2 separate regions of the Homo sapiens genome follow, and region 1 is linked to region 2. The links are contacts of gene promoters, found by promoter capture Hi-C in human tissues and cell types (Jung and others, 2019). All regions are on one chromosome and are shown on one strand. Each heading gives the region's core, a stretch centred on a gene start or on the middle of the fragment in contact. The rest is flanking DNA. Distances are from core to core; before and after follow the strand shown.

Evidence for each region. Contacts are between HindIII fragments. The study calls those that stand out against the background at their distance.
Region 1: a fragment that was not itself captured here is called in contact with the fragment with the promoter of FRAS1 in region 2 in 1 of the 25 tissues and cell types used here (dorsolateral prefrontal cortex).

Annotation. Positions count from the first base shown.
Region 1 is chr4:77,993,407-77,998,658 of GRCh38, reverse strand. No RefSeq gene overlaps it. Among named protein-coding and RNA genes, the nearest start is that of FRAS1, 61 kb to the left of the region's middle. The HindIII fragment of the contact is 4,570 bases long and covers 1,101-5,252 here.
Region 2 is chr4:78,055,733-78,061,417 of GRCh38, reverse strand. It overlaps FRAS1 (Fraser extracellular matrix complex subunit 1), which reads right to left and starts at 4,095. Exons shown (of 74, transcript NM_025074.7): 1 at 3,333-4,095. The coding sequence starts at 3,408. RefSeq lists an enhancer at 4,538-5,509. The HindIII fragment of the contact is 7,312 bases long and covers 1,339-5,685 here.

The DNA.
Region 1 (5,252 bases), core at 2,136-4,635, 62 kb after region 2:
GAGGTCAGGAGTTCGAGACCCACCTGGCCAACATGGTGAAACCCCCTTTCTACTAAAAAACAACAACAACAGCAACAACAAAAATTAGCCAGGCGTGGCGGTGGGCACCTGTAATCCCAGCTACTCAGGAGGCTGCAGCAGGAGAATTGCTTGAACCTGAGAGGCGGAGGTTGCAGTGAGCCGAGATTGCGCCACTGCACTCCGACCTGGGCAACAAAAGCAAAGCTCCAGCTTGGGAAAAAAAAAAAAAAAAAAACCTGGCTCAGAGAATAAGGGAGTTTACTGAATCACATAACTAGAAAGACTAGAGAGCAAACTTTAGGGTTAGTTTGGGCCAAAGGTTTATAATATTATCATCAGGGTCATTGCTCCTTTTTTAAAAATGTTCAGTTCCCGTGGTTGTGCTCTCCTTCTTGCACTGGCTTTTTATTTAGGCTGGTTTTCCATATGGTAGCAAGGTGGCTACCCGCAGCTCCTAGGGCTAAATGCTTTCTCATTTGCACTGGGGGCAAGAAGGGGTTCCTTTCCTTCCAACCATAAAACCAAATTCTTAAGCTTCCCACTGACTGGACTTTCTCACCTCTGAAAAAAATTAGTATGGCTAAGGAAGTCACAGTAATTTTAGACCTGGGAAATGAGCCCATCTAAACCAATAACAGCCAGGCCTAGACTAGTGAGAATCCACCTCTAGAGTTAGGGGAGAACAGCCACATGGTTTCTACCCAAAGTAAGAGGGTAAAATGGATGTTGTGTGTGCAACCACAGTATTTTTTACTCTTATGTGCCAGACTGAAGCTAAACAACAGGATGGATTCACTGAGCAGTCTCCTTGGCTGCCAATCTATACAGTTTTCGCTGGAAAAGTACCTTGATGAAGAAAGTTATTCAGGGATGGCTCATGTGAGGGTTGTGTTCCTTAAGCGTTGCATAATTCCAGCCTAATTTTCCCACATGGAAAATTTTCCTAAATGGAAACTAGGGAAGGATGGATTCTCATAGCACATACATCTACTGTAATTTTTGTCTATTTTCACTTTAATAGTTGTTTTATGTTTTTTCCAAGATTATTTCTAATATTTCATAGCATGCTTTCTTCAAAATGTACAACCCAGTGTGTCAGGGTGTTTGGTCTTATTTTAGCATGTCTAGCTTCTATTCCAAAGATACTGATTTTCAGGACCATTTTCTCAGCAGCATCATTTGGACCACCTTCAAACGAATGCTCACATGGTGTTACTACTGGATACTAAAAATACTTTAAATTGTAATAGCAGTGATTTTTTAAATGAAGGCAAAAATAGTTACAGTTACAAAGTGCACAATTTTGGTGCCCTGGGTCATTTACCCTAAGCCCATTTCTCATCTCCAGTGGCAGTGGACAGTATGACATAATAAAAAAATACACATCTGATCTCTGCCTCCGGTTCCTATCACAGAGCTCCTGAAAGTAATTTCCTGAACAATAGTTTTGTTAAGTGAATATCTTTTCTCTAATATTTGGTCCTTGACCCTGCTTTCTAACACAGAGCTCTTAATACCTTGGAATTTTCTGGGTGGTGGGAATGTGTTTTGTTCTAATGAGGCAAACGTTGGTGGGCTCCTGGGTGGAGGCTGGTCATCAGAAAGACCAAACCAGAATTAGAAGCTTGAATCTTTCAACCTCAACCCCCATCCTCTGGGCAGGAAACAGGCGCTAGAAACTGAGTTAATAACCAATCATCCCTACATATTAAAGCCTGCATAAAAATCTCTAAACTACAGGATTTGGGGAGCTTCAGGGTAGGTGACCATGTGGAGGTCCTGGGAGGGTGGTGTGCCCGCAGCGGGCATAGAAGCTCCGTACTCCTTCTCCATCCCTTGCCCTATGCATCCCTTCCATCTGATTGTTCCTGAGTTGTGTCTTCTATAATCAACCAGTAATCTAGGAAGTAAACTTTTTTCCTGTGTTTTGTGTGCTAGTCTAGCAAACGATTCACCTAGGGAGGGGTTGTGGAGAGCCTGATTTATAGTTGGCTGGTCAGAACCATGAGTGACAACCTGGACTTGGGATTGGCATCTGAATTGGGAGCAATTTTGTGGGATTAAATCCTTGACCTGTGAAATCTGATGCTAACTCTGGTTAGTGTCCGAACTGTAGGAGCTGATGCTAAGTCTGATGAGTGTCCGAATTGAATTGAATGCTAGGATACCTGGTTGGTGTCTGCAGAGAATTGGAGAACTACTTGGCGTGGGAAACTTTACACACAGGCACACACACACACACACACACACACAGTATCAGAAGTGAAGTATTGAGAGTGCAAATAAAGAGAAAAACAGTGAGTTTTTTCTACACAGACAGTCTCACATCAAACATTACCATGGGTCTTTTCATTTTCTGCCCCGGGGCCTTCTTTGAAATCTGAAGCCACAGGTACCACTTGGCCCATAGGCAAACAAAGCCAGGAAGTGTAGTAGGTGTTCGATCAATACATGCTGAATGATTGAATGGTAGAATATAACAGATTACCATTAAACTGCCTTGTCAGTAGATGAGCACAGCAAGGAGCACATATATTTGGAACCTGAATTACTTGGGACATAACAGTACTGTCCAGTAGAGCTTTCTGCATATCAGTGCTGTGTAATACAATAACCACTACCCACAGGTGGCTATTTAGCACTTGAAATGTAGCTGGTATGAGTAGCTGGTAAATAACCAATTTTTAAATTGAATTTTGTTTTAATCAATTTGTAGTTAAAGAGCCAAGTGTGTCTAATGGCTACCATTTTAGATAGCATAGGATAGGACATGCCAACTGCTGTCACAAAAGTCCTCTTACTCCTTGCCACACTTAGCCTAAAAAGTATTTATTTAGTAACGGTTTGTGGGTGCACAAAATTATTAGCCTACCTGGGAAACCCGCATGGCTTGGAGCAGCCCCAAAATTATACTGCAAGCCTTTTTTTCTTCTCAAAGTCAAGGTCTAGCAAAAACAGGCAGGTGGAATCAAAAAGTTGTTCCTTGTATGGAACTCCTTGGCTTGTGTTTATGATGAGGTTTGAGCACAGACTTTCACTGCTGTGTTTCTCTGTGTTGGCGCAGACAGGTAGAGGAGAACGTAACTTAGAAATGCATGTCACAGTTTAAATCCAGCCCATTCAGATTCATCTACATTTAAATAAGAAAAAAAGTGCTGCTTTTAAACAACCATTCATGTCTAGGAAAACATCTTTGAATCCTCTAATTTATTATTTGAAAAAGTCCCTTTCACTAGGAAGAAAAAGAAATATATGTTTTATGTAATTGTCAGTGTGCAGGTTGCAAAGACTGAACCTCTGGTTTCAAAGAAGTTTCTAAACTTGGTAAGCCCTGCTTCCCATCACTAAAATAAAAAATGCTTTATGTGCACACACCTTGTTCTGTATGGTTTAACAGATAGGTCACAGGCGGGCGTCAGGTGCTCAGGGGTTCTATTCTCAGCTCTCTCACTGACTCAGCCTTTGACCTCAGAAAAGCTGGGTTAGATTTAGACCAAAGGCTCCACAGAGCACAGTTGGAATGTGTGCATCCTGTGGGTTTTGCTCCTTTTCTGGAAACTCACAGCAGCACTTTAGATTCTGCTTTGATGGAACGGGTCAGGGTACAGCCATACACCATCTTGACCAGTTCCCCAGGCTTTCCAGGGACTACCTTCCCCTTTCTTCTCTTCCACATTCCTCTCTCTCCCCACGCTACTTTTCCATGATGACTGTGGCATCATTTTAGATCTTGGGGTCACAGATAAATGCAGGCAGGTGAGCCTCATATATACTCTTATTACTTAAACCTGCTTGAAGCAGTTGAGCACATTGGTGGGTTGGTTTGTTTGTTTGTTTGTTCGAAGCAGAGGATTTGATCCCTGCACAACTGCAGTTGCCCCAAGAGCACAATGACACTTTATGTTCCAGACCCAAATAGTCAGTTTCACTGCACTCCCCACAGTCCCTCATACCTAGATTCCAACTTGCATCTGTGTATCAAGGCTTCCTCTCCTGGGACCCCTTGTGGATGAAATCTGCTATAGGTTCCAAGCTTGCAGGTTTAGTTGTTATAGCTCTTTAGAGGTCCTAGGGAACTGAAAAAAAAAGCAAAGGCCAGTGTGGCTGACAGCTACTGGGGAGATTCTGCCATCCTTGTGCAGTCCAAGAACAACATGATACCTCAAGCTGATTTCCAAGGGCACATTTTTTAGATTTAGATTTTATGACTATGGCTTTTACTCTGGGTGAAATGAGTTGCTACTGGAGGATTTTGAGCAGAGGAATGACAGATTAGACTTAACTTTTAAAGGCTCCCTCTGGCTGCTGGATTTGGATCTCTGAATATTACTCAACCCTGCATTTTCCATTGCTGTGTTCCTGGCAATAAACTTTATGCTTGCTCTGCCTGCTGGGTTCACTTCCTCTCCCTCACAACCTACAACAGGCTCTGCTCTTCTATCTCTGCTTCTAGACTCGACCTTAGTCAGGGAGGCAGCTCTACCTCCTGACCCAAGCATCACTCTTCTGGCCATGCTGCTGCAGTGAACAGAACCAATGTAGCTGATTCCTTATCATCAACAATGTGTTAATACTTTATCATCTGAAATCAGTATTGAGCTCTGTATTTATTGAACTTGGCATGGAATTTTCACCTTTTTCTTAGAGATCCCCAGGTCGGGATGACCCAAATCTGTAAGTGCTCCCTCTCCCACACTGGCACCTTGATCCCTGCTGATCTTGTTGTCTCTCCTTCTCACCTTTAAATTTGTTGCTTCGTAAGGATGTTCCCGCACTTTTCTGTATGTGAACCACTGCCTTTTCATTATCACTTATTTAAAACAAAAAGCTGAGCTAATTTATAATTGAAAATTAACTGTTTTTGATAAAATTATGGAGAACCTGGACAATACAGATTGGCTTAAATAGGAAAAATACTTGCAAATATCTATAACCCTACTAATACAAATATATTTTCTAAAATTATATGCATATATATGTATAGTTTGTTTTACAAAATTACACTATATACCTATAGTTGCATTCTACTCTTTTCACCTTATAGTATATAATGAGCATTTTCCAATCTTGCTAAATGATTTTTAGTAGCTGCATAGTACAGTGTGGCTGTATCATTATGTAATCTCCTACTTAACTAATTTGACTGTTTCCAGGTTTTTGATATTATAACCATGTTATTGCAAACGTTGTATATGTGAATTTCTGAATAGCTCTCTGACAATTTTATTCAA
Region 2 (5,685 bases), core at 2,846-5,345:
CAACTGTCTTATCTACTGTAACTTCACAGGACTTCCATATGTCAACAGAACTCAAGATATTTCTCCAGAAAAAGCCATGGTAGAGTTTCTGTGATTCAGAAAGCAGCCATGTTAGAAGCTTCTTTGTGACTTCTTGATTTTATTAAGTTCTCAAGTCATAGCATTAATACTTTACCAGTTTAGCAATATAAGGCCATATAAAATAACACTGCCAATAATTTGCTTGTAAAAATTTATTTTTCTTTTGATATTTCTTTTGATAAAATTTAGAGGCCAGGCACAGTGGCTCACACCTGTAATCCTAGCACTTTAAAAGGCCAAGGCAGGCAGTTCACTTGAGGTCAGCAGTTCAAGACCAGCCTGGCCAACATGGTGAAACTCTGTCTCTACTAAAAATGTGAAAATTGGCTGGGCATGGTGGCGCACATCTGTAATCCCAGCTACTCAGGAGGGTGAGACATGAGAATCGCTTGAGGCCAGGGGGCAGAGGCAGCAATGAGCTGAGATTGCACCACTGCACTCTAGCCTGGGTGATAGAGCAAGACTGTGCCTCAAAAAAAAAATAATAAAAATAATAAAATTTAGAACCAGAAAATTGCAATTGACCACTAATAATGCAGCAAATACTGATCTCTTTTTCTTCTATGTTTGATGATTAGCCAAAGTATCTTAGAGCTATCACGTAATGTACCTCATTTAGTAAATGACAGAACTATAGCGCAAAGAGGTTAGATGGTTCATTCAAGGTTAGTGAGCTAATCAGAGGCCAGTCCACCAGTTAAGCTTAATTCAAAATAATATAATTTGGCAATACTGTTCATCTGACCAATTTTTTGAGCACTTAGTGTATACTAGGAGCTGAACTGAAGATATCAGAATTAATAGGAGCCATCCTAACCCCTCAATAAGCACACAGCTAAGTGAGGAAGACCAAACCCATACCAACCACAATTGTTCTCTCTGTGCACTGAGAAGAAAACGACAAATTCTGCCATAAGCTGGTCAGCAAAGGTGTCACAAGGTACATCCCATCAAAAGAAGTATACATGTGAATGTCTCTTTTCTATTTTTAAAAATTATTCTCTAGGCTGATAATAAAAACTTGAGGAGATTTCTAAGATCCTTGAGGTTTCCAACCTTGATCTCAATGCTCTTATTTTTTAAAGAAAAAGAAAACCTTGAGAGGACCAAACCAGAGGTCTCATCAGATGACAAATGTTTTTTTGTCTGTGGGAGTGATATCACTTAATTAAACTAATTAAATGAGATAAAGTATGTAAAGTGCTTAGCAAAGAGCCAGGCAAACAATACCTGCTCAATAAATGGCCATGTTCATTCATTCATTCATTCATTATTAGATAAGCACCATTATGACGTGGGTGGAAACTCAGACATCTATCAATTTATCAATCCAATTTGTGAAACAGCTATAGAATGCTCTGACAGTAAAGTCAAACAATAAGAAGCAAAGTTTCCAAAGACTCTTTGGAGTAATATCCACACCCTCTCTCCGCCCCCGCCCCCGCCCCCCGTCTCTACCCCCAGCTTTCTGTGCTTCACATCCCCCCATCCCCACCTCCCAGTCTAGATTCCGCACTTCTTAAACTTGGCCCACTGGATCAAGCAATCTGCCAAAGAGCGCACCCTGCAGGCTCTTAATAATAATGCCTTTTGTTGATTTCAGAGTTTTGGTTCCGACAAGCTGCACCATTCCAACTGCCCCCTGGTGAGCTATCCGGGAGTGATAGCACGTTTCCTGCGTTGCTGGGATAGGACTCTAAATTTTAAAAACTGCCACCAAGTGAAATTAATTTTTCTAAGTACCAAGTTCAGGTTTGGGTGGCCTGGGGTGACTCTCTCATCTGGTTTATTGTTATAATCAAGCCCTACAAGCTTTTTTTTTTTTTTTCCAAAGTACGCGCCCACACGCACATAAACAATAAAGTTATATTTCTACAGGACTTGCACTGTTGGGAGAAGGCTGCACAGGCCCCAGATGTGCCTTTCGCGGAGATTATACACACTTGACACACATCCCGGAAGAGTGCAGAAGGCAGCACCTGGACCCACGGGAAAGTCCCCCACCCTTGTGCGTGGATTCCCAAGGCCTTTCTCTTGGGAAGCCAGCAAAGAAAAGGCAGCTGCTCCAGTGACTGGAGGTCGACCCGAGGCAGAGCTTTGTCCTCCCCGGGCCTCCCGCAGCCCCCAGTCCTGCGCCAGAGCTCGACTCCCGGGAGCCGCCCCGCGCCCCTTCCTAGGCACCAGGGCGGAGAAGGCGGCCCGCCCTGCGCCCGCCGCCGCCGCCCAGCCGCGGCTCTGGTTTGCGGCTGGGCAGGTGAACTCTTCTTCCCGCAGCTGGATGAATAATGAATGGAGCCGGGAGGGGAAGCCGAGAGCCAGGCGCTGTGGATTAAGCCGTCTTCCTCCCAGCCCGCCGGCTCCCTTCCCCCTCCCTAAGCACTGGCGGGGCGACTTCCCTGGCTCCTCGGAGCAGGAGGGAGCTCACAGCGCCTCGCGTCCCCAGGCCCGGCATCCCATGACCCCAAACTCTTGATTTACTTATTGACTCATTTATTTGGCTGAGCCCGGATTGCATTTGATATCATGGCGACAACTAGTCTCACGGCTTCCTTTTCTCTCCTGCGGCTCCGGGGTTTTACAGGTAGCTTGGAGCCTCGGAGGAAAACCAGGAGGCGGAGGGTGAAGTAAAAGAATGAACCTAAACTCTTATTAACCACTTTTGTTCTGGGAAGCAGGCTGGTTCGTGCTTCTCCGTACTGGAGAGATTTCTTTCAGTGCAACTGAACTGCCCACGACCAGAACACGCTCCAACCAGTTAGTTATAAAATCCTAACTGGACTTTAGGGGGAGACTAACTGAGGTAAGGAGGGCGGGAGAGCGATGGGGCTTTAAGATGAAAGACTGTATGTTTCTTAGGAACAGAAGTATTTTTAAACAGGTAAGAGCAATTGTTCGCTCCTCACCTGTGCTCCATGCAGTTGCTTTCCCTTCGGGGAAAGGTAGGTGGTGGAAAGAAAAAGGATCAGTTTCAGAGATGTCACCTCCATCGGCCACCCACCCACCCAAAAGCACTTAGGGCAGAGAGGGAGGCCGTTTCGGGGGTGTAATCCGAATACAAAACAATCAGGAGTAGGAATCTTATCAGAAAAAGCCTATTCCAGTTTCACTTCCACCTCACCCTTCCCAGAAAAACTTCCACCTCACCGAAATACCATAAAACCTGCTGAGATTTTTAAACTGCACGATCACTCACACATACACACACACACGCACACGCACACACACACACACACGCGGCACCGCTCTCTCACCTTCGGAATGATGAGGCAATACTGCAAATTCCGCCAACGCTAGGGCCAGCCCGAGCCACACTTTGAGGACACCCATCGCCGCCTCGGCACCCACGATGGAGGAGCCCAGCCTTCAGCATCCAAGAAGCGGCTCCGCCAAAACGCTGGCTCCGGCGCTTGGAACCCGGGCGCACTGAAGGTGGGGGACCGCGGGCCTTTACCTCCGGGAAAAAGAGATGGACGGGCGGAGAGCGACACTCATCAGCCCGGAGGCGCCGGAGCGGGCTGGGGTTCAATTCACTCGCTGCTCAGGCAGAGAGCGCGCCGAGTTCCCCCGCAAGGCAGGACGCCAACGTGAGCTTTGGGAGAATAAGAGGAGGCAGAGCACAGTTCTCCGCGTCAAAATCTCGCCGGAAAGTTGCTGGTCACTGGCCGATGGGATCTTCCAGCATTTCCCTCGGGCTAGACCCTTCCGATCCCGGGTCCCCGACAGTGGAAATCCTGGCTCTGGTTTGTCCGAAGCAGCTTTTTAAAGTTCGCTTGGCACCATACGTCGGCGTTGCGTCGGCACCGCGGGTCGCCGGGAGCCCCGAAAGACCCACCCACACCCACTCCTTGGTCGAGCCACCCGGCTCGGCAGACCTCATCTGCCGGGGTCCGCTCGCTGGAAACTGTGCAGCGCTGAGGGCAGCTCCGGGGACTCGCCCGCCCTGCAGCCGCACCGCACCACACCGCCTCAGGCTGCGCTCCCTGAAGCAGACTGTTCGGAAGCTTCAGAGGAAAGACTGGGGGGCGCTGCTGCTACTTTCTCGTCCCCGCCCCTCGCCTGGGTGAGGAGGGCTGCGGGGACGCGGCTTGCTGCACACCAACACCCACCTCCGCGCTGAACACCCCGGAGGAGGTCTGCAGGGTAGAGGTGCAATGATTACGGGAGTGGAAGAAGAGCCATAATTTTAATTGCACGGAGGAAAAAGCTAGCGAGGCTGGAAAAGACCCCCAAACTCAAGGCCACTCTGGCGAGAGAGCCTGGAAACGCCCAAAATACGCCGGGTCTGGACCCCGTGTTTAAAGGACACACGTTCAGCCTTCCTCTAGTCTCCCTTGCCTCCTTCCTCTCTGCTTTGCTCGGTGTGAAAATGGACCCAGAGACTCGGAGCTTTGGCGAAATTCCAGAGAGTCACGTGGGGAAAGGGAGAAGCGAGGAGGGAGGTGAGGGGAGGCCGGGAGAGCAACCTGATCCCTTTATTCATTCTGCTGGAGTTCAGATTGGCTTTGTCTGGGGAGGAATCAAAAGTGCTCATACCGGGGACGGAGGGGGTGGAGATAGGTTGCACAGTTCTTGCTCAGGCACACCGGAAGGCAGATGAACCGTGTCCACATCCCTTGTTAGGGGAGGAACCGATTCGGCGGGCTGGGGGAGCGTGTGCCCACATCAAAGGCCCTGGGGCTACCTCCCACCCCCACAGCCCGCCACTCCTGCTGAACTAAGTGCGTCCGGGGGACCTGATTGATCCTTCTTCCTCGCTCTGGGACCCTCAGGCTGTTGCATCCTGGCTTTTACCAGCAGCCCGGGAAGATCTTGGTGTGTGTGTCCTAGGCGGAGCCTGAGAGCAAATGCACCTTTCCCTTTCCCTAGGAGACTCTGTCAGTGGAACACAACGCGGTCTGGGAGCTGTGGGTCCAGCTGCGCCCCCAGATGCCAATGGCTGGGAAAGTAACATCAGGACACGGCCGACTGGGGCGCGCACTTGAAGAGCAGAGGCCTTGATTCCCCGCCAGGACTGACTGACGGCAGCTATTTTTATAGGACCGAATAAAAATAGCTGGTCCACGTTTAATCGTTTTATAAGGGAACAGTTGCATCAGAGAGATGCTGACTGGGTTCTGATTGGCCCAGAGAAGAAACGTCTCGGGTCCCTCAATTGAGTCGGGATGGGCGAAACTGTTGGAGGGGAAGCAGTTGCATGAGCTGTGCTGGCGGGGGTCCCACTTGTTTCCAGTCTTCACGAACACCATGACGCGGGCCCACGTTCTAACGTGCACTGACGCCACTTGGAACAATTCACTTTTCCGAATAACTGGAATAACTTGAAACTGGCAGGTCCCTGTCAGTGTTACTATTCAGCCAGAACAAAGGAGAACCTCTGACAACCTGGCTCTGAATCTTAAGTATTTGGAGGACCCAGGGTTTGCACATTTCGCCCTCAGTCTCTCTGTTGGGCTGTGGTCATTCTAGGGACAGAGGTTGTATCATCTTTGTATAATTGAAGCACATAGTAGGTGCTCTTTAAACATTTGTTGAAATAATGGATTAAGTGCCTGAGAGCAGCGGCCATATCAAGGGGAGCTGCGGGCCTTAACCTCCTCCCAAAAA